Regions from separate parts of the Homo sapiens genome. Here region 2 is linked to region 1. The links are contacts of gene promoters, found by promoter capture Hi-C in human tissues and cell types (Jung and others, 2019). All regions are on one chromosome and are shown on one strand. Each heading gives the region's core, a stretch centred on a gene start or on the middle of the fragment in contact. The rest is flanking DNA. Distances are from core to core; before and after follow the strand shown. Region 1 holds the start of CA8 (carbonic anhydrase 8). Region 2 holds the start of LOC105375861 (a long non-coding RNA gene).

Region 1 (6,247 bases), core at 2,652-5,151:
TACTAGACTGTTTGGTTTCTTTGCAGGCCAGAGATACTTTTTTTTTTTCTTTGAAGAAAAAGATAAAGGCAAAAACAGCATTTGAGCAAATAAAAATTATCCTTGAACTCACCTTTACTTGATGGGCTACTATGTCTGTTTTTGATAACGCCTAAATCTTTCTTCTAGGAAATGGCACGTGCCACCTCTACTCATATTTAATTCGTCAAAGAAGTCACATGGTCAAGCAGTGAAGGGGCAGCAAATGATAGAGACAATGATGTCATCTCCAATGACTACATGGAGCCCTAGTCGTTTGTTTCTGAAGATAAAAGACCAAGAAGAGGTCAAAAAAAAGGAGGCTCGTAAATGTAACTTTAAGCAGGTGAAATAAAAGATTAATCAGTTGAAAAAAGTAATTTAAAAGGAAGAAGTAAATTTTTTTATCAACAAAGTTTGAAACCTTCAGAAATCAAAATATATATAATGAAGAAAATTTTGCTGTCTTTCCTGACAAAAGAAAAACTAGACATAAGGAATTAAACAACCATAGGAAAAAGTGCCTTACCTGAGACATAAGCCTAGAGAAGTGCTTATTTTTAGTGTATCTGAATTGGTTTTGGCAGTCACAGATGGCATTTAAGGGAGCAAATAGATCCGCAATGAGCACTTGCATGATTCGGCATCTTTGTTCACACCTGGAATGTTATTTGCTCACATGCTGCCCACCCAAACTCTGCCCATTTCCTCTAGTTTGCCCCAAATGCCATCTTGTTCAACTTTTCTAAATCATTCCCATTAGTATGAAAATTCCATCTTCCTTAGATGTAGTGGTACCTGCATTTCTATTTAACATATTAATATTGCGTATTGCCTTGTATTATAATTATTTACCCCTCTCCTCCCTCCAGAGAACCATGAGTTCCTTGAGAGCAGAAGAAGTATTTTATTTTTTATTTTTGGTTCTCCCACAGTGCCTAGTCCAGAGCAGCGCACATGAAGGAACCCAATTCATTGCTGTTGAAGTTTATGAATTACAGTTTGTATAGGAGCCACGTGACATGCATATGTTAGCTGTACCCTTGAGGTGATCCCAGAGCATAAGATGCACATAAGAGGAGGTCAAATTTATGACTCTAGGGCCTAGACTCACCGATACAATAAGAAAGCTTTGGTACGGTAGACAAGCAGTGAGGAAAGACAGGAGCGGGCTGTCTAGGTTGTGGACTCTGGGAAGCGACCTTAGTACTTTGGTTCCTCTGACATCTAGATTAGTTTGTCCCTTTTAGATATTTCTATTTATATTCTCTTAGTATCAAATGGTAGTTAGTTATATAGGTCTTAGTTTTAATAAATTGTTCTACTAATATGGTTTGGTCTTAGCTATGCAAGCACTAAATGTGAGCAATATAAAGTTAATTTAAGGGATCAAATATAATATTAGGCTGAAAGCCTATTAAAAATTATAGAGGAATATGTGGAAGACACATTCATAATACAGAGTATGAATATTTTTAGATTCTCTGGTATTGGATTTAGATGTGCTTGTTCTATTTTGTAAAACAAAGAATTGCCCTATATCTTTGATCTGTGTGTTTAGATTTTTTTAGTGACAGACACCTTATAATAACTAGAAATAGAAATTCCATCTTTGGTGGTAATATAGTGCAGGGACCTGAGAAGAGAAGGTCTTAAGGTGCTGTTAATTAGCAAAAATCTGAACCCCACAGTCTCAAAGCAATTAAGGCTGTTAATTGAATATTTGGGTGCTTAGAGGATTGGCTCATATGTGGCTGGACAGGGAACCCTAGGCTTGCATACAGGAGTTACATTCTACAAATAATCATGAACAATTCAGAAGGAGCAAATATAGGCCAATGCTAGTAGTCAACTGCATATTTGAATAGTAATACATTGCTGGCTATATGCAAAATTGTCTTTTTACTGTAAAAGTAAATACTAATAATTCAATCTTTCAGCCTATCTTTTGTAAATATGGCACAGTATTTATTCATGGAAAATTCAGTTTTTTACCATGGTGATTGTACCATCCTCTGGTTTGATAAACATCTCTATGATTCACCTGATATTTTAAACACAGTTGGTGGTCACACAATGGCTACAATGTCATACTTAGGCACATTTGGGGGACAGAGGAGAAAGGCCATTGCTGATGAGCTCAGAGTGGCAGTGCTTTTATTATCCAATTCCTTCATAGCCTTTGTATGGGCTTCCTTAGCTGTGGCATTTAATTAACGTGTGAACATACTTCTAAAAAGAAACTTAAAACAAATAGAAGATTACAAAAAAGTTTTCAAGAAAGGAAAAATAAATGTTCCTTTTAGAAGACCTTCAGTGAAAAGTAGTTAATATTTTCAGTAGTGCTTATTATTTTTAATAGCTCTGGCTTTGGGGTAGGCTTCTGCTTCTGCCAGTCCCAGGCTTGCAAAGATGCAAACGACCGTCCACTAAAGAACACCCAGAATGCAGTGAGTGAAAAATGAATTTAGTTTCTCAAACTGTTTCAGTCCTCTGCACAGTTAAGGAAAAGAGAAATTATATGAATGCTTAAAATCCACCGGTTATCCTCCAAGCTAATGTTGGCCAGTAGTTTTCCATATATTTGGTTAAACCTTCCAGAAAGTGGCAGAATTGAGCGAGTTGAGGGTTCCCCCCACTTCTTTCCATCTCAGTGTACTTTCTGGAGCAGTTTGTAATTTTTTTTTTTTAAAAGCTATGAAGTGTCTTTTTAAAAAGTGGAGGTGCTTAGCAGGCAGTAAAGGATATGAGCACTGAAACTAAACATTCCCAAACGGATCATTTCCATCCTTATTTGAGGAATTATGCATTCATAAGGCTGGTGTGATTTAGGAACAGGTTATTCAAAGTGCAAATAGATATCTTCATGAATGACCAGAGCATATAAAAAACAAATTGTACTTAAGGTCCTAACTCGAGTTTATTGTGCACATATATCTTCTAAAAATGTGGAGTTAACCTACTTAGGGGTTACTGACCAGGGCTTTTAAAAGGCACAGGAACAGAGGGCTGAAGTCGTTAACACTAGACTGAGAAGCACGTTTAAGGGTAACAATGCCACCTCTTTGGATCAGAAGAGTTCCTGTTTGTTATGCAATGTGTGCACTTCATTATTTACACGATTTCACTAGGTGAATGGGAGCTGTGTACACAGCCAGGTGAGCCTGCAGCAGCGCCCCAGACTCTGACAGCGAACACCCTCTGTCTACTGCCTTCTGCTAGCCCTGCTTTGAAACAATACCCTTTTCTGGAAAAAAAAAAAAAAAAAACACAACCCTAAATCATAGCTACTTCTCTAGATAACAACCATTTTCTTTTCTTAAACGTTTTTAGGAATTAATAGAACTTTCTTGGAAAAATTTCCAAACTCGTTTCCACTGCGCTGAACGGACGATTTAAAAAGTAAATACTCAGAAGATACTAAGAAGATTCCGCTGGAGAGTCTCTTTTTATTGTGTTACGGGGTCTCCTAGCCCTCTCCTTTCTCCTACCCACGGCAGCCCATCTCTCTCCTCCAGGACCCCTTCTTTTTGGTATTTCCTGGAGTACGGATGAAAATGAATAGGTGAGCAGCCTCTGGGCTAGGCCAGGCACACAGGGGTCCCGAGTGACCTTGGGAGACTTGCGGGCTTCTGGAAGGAAGGCTCGGGCGGCCAAGCAGGAGTCGCCGCAGCGAGGAAGCGCCAGGAGGCGGCGGGGGCGACCCCGGGGGAAGGGCGGGCGGGGATGCGCCGAGGTTTCCGTGACTTGGGACTAGTCGCCCCGAGGCGCATTCTAACTGTCGGCTCCCCTGGCCCCAACGGCCAGAGAGAGAAGGGGGCGGATCCTCGCGTACCAGACACGCCCCGGTCGGGTATAAAATTCGCCAGGCGCTCGCTCCCCAGGCCACAGCCGCTCCCTCGCTCTGCTGGGGCCTCCGGACGCGCTTCCCACGCGGGTCTCTGGAACACTCGGTCCGAACGCACGCCTGCTTGCACTCACACTGCGGTTCACACCCGGAGGCGCTCTCGCACTCACACTGCCGCTCACGCGTGCTCACACTCCCCCACGCGCGCTCCGCTCCGGCTCCAGCCCCGCGCCCAGCGAAGGCGCAGGCACTGCTGCCGAGAGCGCCGAGGGGCCCCGCGGCCTTCCCATGGCGGACCTGAGCTTCATCGAAGATACCGTCGCCTTCCCCGAGAAGGAAGAGGATGAGGAGGAAGAAGAGGAGGGTGTGGAGTGGGGCTACGAGGAAGGTAAGTGGCCGCGAGTCGGGGTGTCCGGGGTCCCGCGGCGGCGTCAGTGTCTCGCCGAGCGCGGGACTCGAGTCCTGCTGCCGCTGCGCGCTCCGAGCACCCCCACGCCCCCTCTTTCCCACGGGGGTCTCTGCCACTTTCCCACTCCCCTGGTGCGTTTCGGGCGGGAGGCGCTCCAGGGAGGCGTGCTCGCCGCCTGCGCTCTTCCGCCGCCTGCGCTCTCACCCGGGAGCCTTCCGCAGGGCTGGCGTTCGCACCTGCTGCGGTCCGGAGGGCGGGCTAGCCTCCAAGCCGTGGCTGTACCTTTTATGTCTTCTGAGTAGTCAAGAAGAGCAGCGGTACATTTTACTAAACACCTGAGGAAGACAGTGTTAGCGTGAAGAATTCGTTTTTGGCTTGGAGACTTTGGGGAGAAAGTGTTTCTGCCTCTGGTCTTTTCGTGAAGCCTGCTAGCAATGCTCAAGTCTTTCTAAAACATGTCCTAAATTTCAGACTGAATCATTGGGTTTGGCGAGAAGCGGTTGACTTTCTGAAAAACTCGAGTTTCCTAGATTTATTCCTAAAGACCTAGGGCTCCTATTAGAGCCAACCAGTAGTGCTGATGTTTACTACATATGTTGAAACCAATATAGAATATATAATTTTAATTATAAAAAATTTGGAAAGACTATGGGAATATGTATGTACACAGATATATACATATGCACACTTTAAAATACTACACTTGCATTTCTGATAAGGGGCGTCTATTTACTAGCATGAGAGTTAGGGTTCTGACTGTCACTAAGTATGTTGAAAGTTACAGCTGTTTCCCAGGTACTGAACGTAATTGAACTAATAAGCAGAAGAAATTGTTCTGGTATTCTTTTTTCCTAATCACTTAAAAATGACCCAAATTTCCTAGAATCATAAATTATTATGTCTTTGTTGACAAATACAAATAGAATATTTTGCTAGTCCGGGATTTTGTGTATGGTATTTGATAATAACAGATCATTCAAATAATGAATGCAAAAACAAATAGAATTACCATATTTCATCTGTATAGTGATGGTATCATTACTCTCTTCATGATATCAAGGGTTCTAAGTGTTTAGTTTTTACATGTTAAATTTTACTGTAATTTATTTTTTAACCTGTTTTTAATTTATTTCATTTTGTTCTTAGGTGTTGAGTGGGGTCTGGTGTTTCCTGATGCTAATGGGGAATACCAGTCTCCTATTAACCTAAACTCAAGAGAGGCTAGGTATGACCCCTCGCTGTTGGATGTCCGCCTCTCCCCAAATTATGTGGTGTGCCGAGACTGTGAAGTCACCAATGATGGACATACCATTCAGGTTATCCTGAAGTCAAAATCAGGTATTTTAGAAAATATGTTTGTGTGGTCTTTTAAACTAGAAGTCAGCGTAGAGTTATTGAACTGTGATTTAACTTGCACAATTTAAAAAGTACAACTGACGTATCTCTATTTTCAGGATACCTTTGTATTATAATATAAAGCATTTTTGGGAATTACCTTCTGAAACAATTTTGAAAGGACAAAAGAGTGAAATTATGAAGATTATCAGTCGGTTGTTCTGCTTCTTATGATGTTACTGGAAAAACCTTAGTTTGATCACCTTATACCTTGTGAAATATGAGGACAGGTACATGCAGGTGCAGTAATCTGCGTTTTGTCCAAAATTGTTGATTAGCTTAAATCACTTAGATAATCATAATTCTCTGTTTTGCTACTTTGTGAAACCAAAGATTAGAATTTATTGACATAACGTGGCATTCAAGGTAGACTTCTCAGGTTAATTTTCTCTACTGTATTAGTTTGCCAAAAATAATTTTAACTAATAACAATAAGAAACAGCCTCTAAACTCAGCCAGAGATTTAAATGGTAAACAAACCTCTTCCTTTTATTTATTTATTTATTTATTTATTTAAGTTCCATCCCATGAAACTTCTCCTACCACTTGCAAACCTATTTGAGATGGATCTGAAATGT
Region 2 (6,247 bases), core at 1,417-3,916, 240 kb after region 1:
CGATAGTAAGAATTTTTTGTACTCAGAATTTTTTATACAACACTGGTTGTATACACCAACCAGTGAGATTCCTTTTTTATCTTCATTTTAGATTAAATATATCAACAACGGGTATGCTTCTGTTAACTTAGATGACATAGTGTTATTTCCTGAGCTGTAACTCATCTCTGCAGATTCTGCTTTTAAATGGGACATTCCTTCAATCCTGAAGTAAAGCCACATCTGCAGAGAGAGCAGGCTCTAGTTTCTCTGTGAAGAAGCAATCGCTGTAGTCTCTGATTGAGAAATTGTAAAGGACAATTCCCAATTAAGGGCATCTGCGGTCAGCTGAAGGGCCAGTGCTCCAGGGCAAGTTAGAGACCTGTCATTAACCTATTGAACAAGTGGCCTGTCACAGAAGGCATTGTGGAGTCTGGCACTTAGTTGGAACAGTACAGTGGTCCCGTCCTAGGAGAGTCAGCAAGTTACAAAGGACTGTGAGAGTTGTGACTTCATATGACCCATGTTAGCAAGGATATGTTGGGTGGGACGTGGAAATCTCATGCTCACGGTGGCCTTCAGAAGCTCAGTCCTGAGCACACTGCATAGAAGGTGAGGAGGCACAAATCAACACTAGACCCATGTGTTTAGTGAAGACTGAAGTCAGGCTTCCAGGATACTCAGGGGCTTGGCTCTTGTTGGCTTATGGTCAGAAAAACACTAAACCTCAAGCACCCCAATGGGGTTGGGGCAAGAAAAAGCTTGTGAAGTTCCTCAAGGACAACAGACTATGGGCAGTCAAAGCAGTTGATCCTTTTATAAAATGGGAGCCATGGAGATATAGAAGGCTCATGTGCCCCTGCAATTCTATCTTGAGAGTAGAGGATTGGTTGAGACAGTTTTTTCTGGAAGATTTTGTTTTTGTTGGGCACTGCTCACAAAGACAACAACCAGGTCTGCAGAGTGCTCTCTGCAGGAGCAATGTGGGTGCTGGCTCAGGTGTCCTAGGTAGAGGGCACAAGCTTTGCTCTCGATTATGTGTGGGCCATGGTGCCAGGTGAACAGGTGGGGAGGCTGAAACAAGTGTCCTATGTAAGCATTTGCTTCTTTGTGGAAGCAGACAATAATAGTTTTCATTATAATTGCTATTCAATAAATGTAAAAACATATATGCTTGCTCACATAAATACATTAGTGCAAAGAATGTGTGCCATTGTTCACCTACTACTTACATTTGGATATTTACCTATTAAGAAACTTCAGAGTTACCTAAAATGTAAAGCAGCATTTGTGAGCAACTTGAGTAAAATGTACTCTAAACAAAACGGCCATTGGATTTCAGGGAAGATTTCTGTCTAAAACTGCTTAGTTTTCACCAAATAGTACTTTAAAACATATACTGTTATTTAAGCCACTAAACCATGCCTTAAGTTCTAGGCATTTCCATTGGCAACTATATGCAATGAAGAAAAAAACCGCAAAAATGATCACCTGATGTGTGAATAGTGAAGGTAGACAATGGTGCCAGGTGGTGCCTGCGCGCATAATCACGAGAACAGTGTGTCAAAGCACAGCAATCAATAACAAAGAAAAATCAACACATATTCAGCATCGTCCTGATAGCGTTAAGCTGATTATCCACTTCAAGTAATTGAGGCAGGAAGATGAATGTGTTGAGCAGCCTTTATTTCTCTTTTGGAATTCAGAGCTAGGTATAAAGGTTAACTGGTGTCTTATATTGCTCATCATTCTCTACCTCAGCCACAGATTTCCAAAAAGAGAGAGATCTTTTCCAACGACTGACTAATGCCCACACAGTTTCTATCATCTTTAAACTATGCTGTCAGTGGAAAATGAGTAGTTTATGATTTTTTTCAATTGCATACACGTATGCATAAATACATACATAAACATACAGAAACATAGAGACACACGTACATATACACAAGTACATACCACTTATATCAATTAATGGCTTCAGGTGCATGGACTTCAGTTACATTAAACTTCAAACAGATCCTCTTAAAACAGACTCTCCTGTTTTACAGCTTATGCCTCTAAAGAGGAAGCCTGGTCTATGTGAACTGAGGGAACACTTCACCCATCCAGCTAAGAAATGGGCTTGCATGACTCCACAATGAGGAACTCTTCTAGGTCTCCATGGGAATTAGAGAATGCTTGTTCCCCTCAGCCTTTGAAGATGCATGGCCATCTTCCTTGGTGAAACATGCTCTTACTGAGTGCATCACTCCCATCATCATTGTGAAAGCTTGAAATCTCTCATGTTAGCTTAGGACCATTGCTGTTTCTTACCCTGTGGGTGAGCAGCCTTCGTGGACAGATCATTATAATTTCACTGTTGCAGCTTCCTCTGCATTAAATCTGAAGTCCTCAGCACATTTGACATCCCATAGAAACCTTACTCTTAAAGATTTTAATCTGACTCTTCTCTAATCCTCCATACCTATGTTAAGCTTCCACACCTTTGTACTCTACCCCTCTTTCAAGGGCCATTTTCAGTTCTACCTCTTCAATAGACCATTGCTCTAAGGAACACCAATGTCTTGTTGCTTTGAACCTCTCATAGTAATTCTTCTTCAGTACATGTTGGGCACAGTTTGTAAGGTTATAGTGTAGCCTCCAGAGTTAAGGGACTTGGGTTTGACTCCTTGTTCTTTCGCTGTCTTTGGGTGAGTTGTTTAATATGTCTAAGCTATGTTTCTCACCTCTGCAGGTCAGAGCAGTCATATTATCTCTCATCTAGGGAATATGTGGGAATTGAAGAATCAAATTCAGATAAAGTACCAAGTCCGGGTACATAATATGTGCTCCATAAAAACTAGCTTCTGTTTTTACTACATACACATCACAATTCTGTATCACATATATTTCCTTATACATATGTGCTTTATCCAGTGTGTGTCCTCAAGGAGGAGCCCAGATGTACACATGTTATGAGGTCAGACATGACCAGGCTTATTTAGAGGGATTTGGGGGCAGCACCCCAAACGTCTATTTTCATGAGGATTCTAAGAGACTTAAGGAAAGAAATGTGCTTTTGAGGGGTGAAAGTCCAGGGGAAAAACCTGGCCAAAAAGGCATATTGAAATACAGCTTTTTGTATTTTTCTCAAATGTTTCTTTGGCCTAGATCCCCAAGGTTTTTTCTGAAGACTTGAGATAAATGGGTTCCAAAGTTTAGCTTATAAAATACTAGGCAATTCAAACTGAAATCAAATGTCTACCTGATTTTGTGCTTAGGCTGCAGACTGATACTATTCCACCTATTTTACTGAAGTAACTACTGAGGCATTCATGGCATGGGTAGAGCAAAGAGGATTCCCCATGGCATATAGTCATCCATAAGAAGAGGGGAAGTCTGCGGTCATCTCTGTGACCCAGGTACTTTTATGCTGGGCTGAAATTTCTACACTGTGGCAACAGCAGACCTTAGAGAATCGAATGGAATTCATGTGGCTGTAGTGAGCACAAATGGGAAGCATACCACATGGTGTGCAGAATAGCTAGATTTGCCAGCACACTTTTGATGCTACAGCAGAACCCGAGCATTTCCTTAATTAGTTGCACAAGTCTAAGTCAGGCGGGGATTGCCGTGCTCTGCAGAAGGAGGTTCATCTGGCACAGGGCTGCTATCGTATTGTTGCTGGATGGCCTGGCCTGGGCTTATGAGGCTTGAGGCAAAGTGGATTACACATTTTTCTCACAACTAGGTTTTGAATCCCTTGAGGACAGAGACTCACCCATCACTATTAGTCTGCTTGGGCTACCATAACAGAATACCACAGACCAAATGGCCTAAGAAACAGAAATGTATTTTGTCACAGTTCTGGAGGCTGGGAGCCCGAGATCAATATGTCAGCAGGTTAGGTTTATTGTGACACCTTTCTCCTTGGCTTGCGGACAGCTGCCTCCGCCCTGCGTCCTCACATGGCCTCTTCTCTGTGCATGCACTCTTGCTGTCTCCTCCTCTTCTTAGAAGCACACTAGTGCTACTGAATAAGGGCCCCACTCTTATGACATAATTTAACCTTAATTAAAGATCTTTAAAGATTTTATCTCCAAATACAGTCACACTGGGGTAAGGGTTTCAACATACAGATTTCAGGAGGACACAATTTGGTCCATAACATCATTTTCACCTTATTAAGCACAGGCTCACTACAGGGATAAAACTTTATTAAGAAATCTGGATTGTTAGAGCAGACCATGAGGGCAATAGGTTGGGTACTGAACGTTGGAAGTGTGAAGATTAAATTGGCTCGAAATAATAAAGTGCCTGGCATATCAGAACTTCGTCAGATCTCATCTGAAAAGCCATCCCAATTTAGCCATGCCTAAAGAAACTTTAATAGGGTGTTTATTAAGTCCCTAGAAGATGAAATACTGGAAACCTTTTATTCTTTAAGTGAACTGATTGAGAAAAGCATTAGAAAGGAACAAAAGTAAGGTCTCTGTGACTGATGGCTGAGAGTATGAGGAAGTGTAGACCCCACAAGACCCAGGAGGGTTCCATTGTTCACATGGCTCTAATGCTGAGTATATCACATCAGCCACTAAAAAACTGAAACAAAGAGTGGTGTGACATGTAAGTAGGTGCCCACTGCTTTTAATACCACTTGTTATATTCTAGAAATGTTAATTCTACTTGGGGAATACATTCTGGGGCAATAATTCAAAGATGTTCACTACAGCATTATTTATAAAGCAGAAAAACTAACAGAGACCATGTCTTTAATGTTTCACATTTGGTTCAGTAAAATTACAATATAATCACATTATAAACAATTACACAATTTTAAAAAGTGATAATTACAAAGTATTTGCGCTAATGTACAAAGCGCTTATTCCTTCCTATGAAAAGAGGCTATCCAGAAGTCAATACACACACACGTGCGCATGCGCGCACACAGACACACACACACACAGAGTTGTATAGTATAGCAACTACATAAAAGGTACATTAAAGAGGCTAGAAGAATGTATGTCAAAATGTAAAAATGATTATCTTTAGCTGGTGGCACTACTTTTCAACATTGTAATGAACATGAAGTATTAGTATCATAAAAATGAAGTAAAAATATACGTATATTTCAATTAATGTTCACTGCTAAATTACCCTATCAAATAGTTGTATCTATTCTGTTCTTGCCATCGGTGTGTGAGAGCCCCTCCCCACCCCTTCAGTGACACGGATCCTGTTCTACTCCCTTCTGCATTCCTTCTCGTGTAGCAAATTGGATGTCACCTGCCTTCTTATTGAATGAATGAATGAATGCTCTAAGAGATTTTCTGTAGTTGTCTTTCCTTTCATTCCCACTCCCCTTCTTCTCCTGCTCCTGGCCCACAGTTTTGGAAAGGCCCAACTAATCTCCCTGCAACTCATTTCCTTTCTTCCTACTGCCCTGGCAACTTGCTTTGTTTCCTGAGTAAGTAATGGAAACTTATTGAATCTCAGTTCTTAGTTTTTTTTTTTTTGAATGAAAAAATTGTAAAGTGCTTGAAAAACATTAGGCAGCAGAGGGGAGAGCAAAGAGGTTTGACTGACTTCTCTGTGAAACAATATTCCCCTCCCCCAGTGCCATGCAGATATGTCTTCTGTGAAAGCTGTGGAAGATTGAAAATAAAAGGGGAAGAAAATGAATCATTTCCATGCCTATGGGACAGGAAAGAATTTAAAGATAAGTAAAGATAGTCTCTGCAGAAAAGAAATAAAATCAAGATTAAAACTGTGCTTTTCTCTCATTCTCCACAGAATACATTCTTGGTTCCTTTATCCTGCAATAATGTGGCACAGATGCTCTGGAATACTATGAGATAGGAGACAAGAATATGAACAATGAGCTGCATTTTTTTCTTGGCTCTTCTAAAATTGGTCTTCAGCAAAGTGAAAAGGAAGGTTTGATTGCTACATCAAAGTATCTCTCCAGAATTCAAACCAAGACTTAATTTCCCTCTAACAAAACTAACCTGAAATACACATACAAACACACACACACACACACACACACACACACACACACACACACACACAGCTTTCATAAGAACCTTTTACTCATTTTAAAAAATATTATTATAATCTGGTTCATTGAAACTGGATGTGAACTAGGCTAAGCATTCATTCTAAACAGATAACAAATATTAGGGACTTAAATTTCCTGGAATGTTAACCTCCGCTCCCACCCCATGTTGGATAGATTCTGAGAGTAGGAATGATTACAAGTTTGCTTTGGAGACTCTGGTGTGGTTGC

The links. The method cuts DNA at HindIII sites, captures the fragments that hold promoters and counts their contacts. A contact is called where the count stands out against the background at its distance.
Region 2: a fragment that was not itself captured here is called in contact with the fragment with the promoter of CA8 in region 1 in 3 of the 25 tissues and cell types used here (H1 embryonic stem cells, heart left ventricle and spleen).

What each region holds. Positions count from the first base shown.
Region 1 is chr8:60,279,054-60,285,300 of GRCh38, reverse strand. CA8 (carbonic anhydrase 8) reads left to right here and starts at 3,901. Exons shown (of 9, transcript NM_004056.6): 1 at 3,901-4,253; 2 at 5,421-5,612. The coding sequence starts at 4,154. LOC105375864 (a long non-coding RNA gene) reads left to right here. Exons shown (of 7, transcript XR_001745925.1): 7 at 169-336. RefSeq lists a cis regulatory region at 1-441, a silencer at 3,718-3,926 and an enhancer at 3,919-4,425. The HindIII fragment of the contact is 7,867 bases long and covers 111-6,247 here.
Region 2 is chr8:60,042,626-60,048,872 of GRCh38, reverse strand. It overlaps LOC105375861 (a long non-coding RNA gene), which reads right to left and starts at 2,065. Exons shown (of 4, transcript XR_007060918.1): 1 at 1,936-2,065. The HindIII fragment of the contact is 3,589 bases long and covers 872-4,460 here.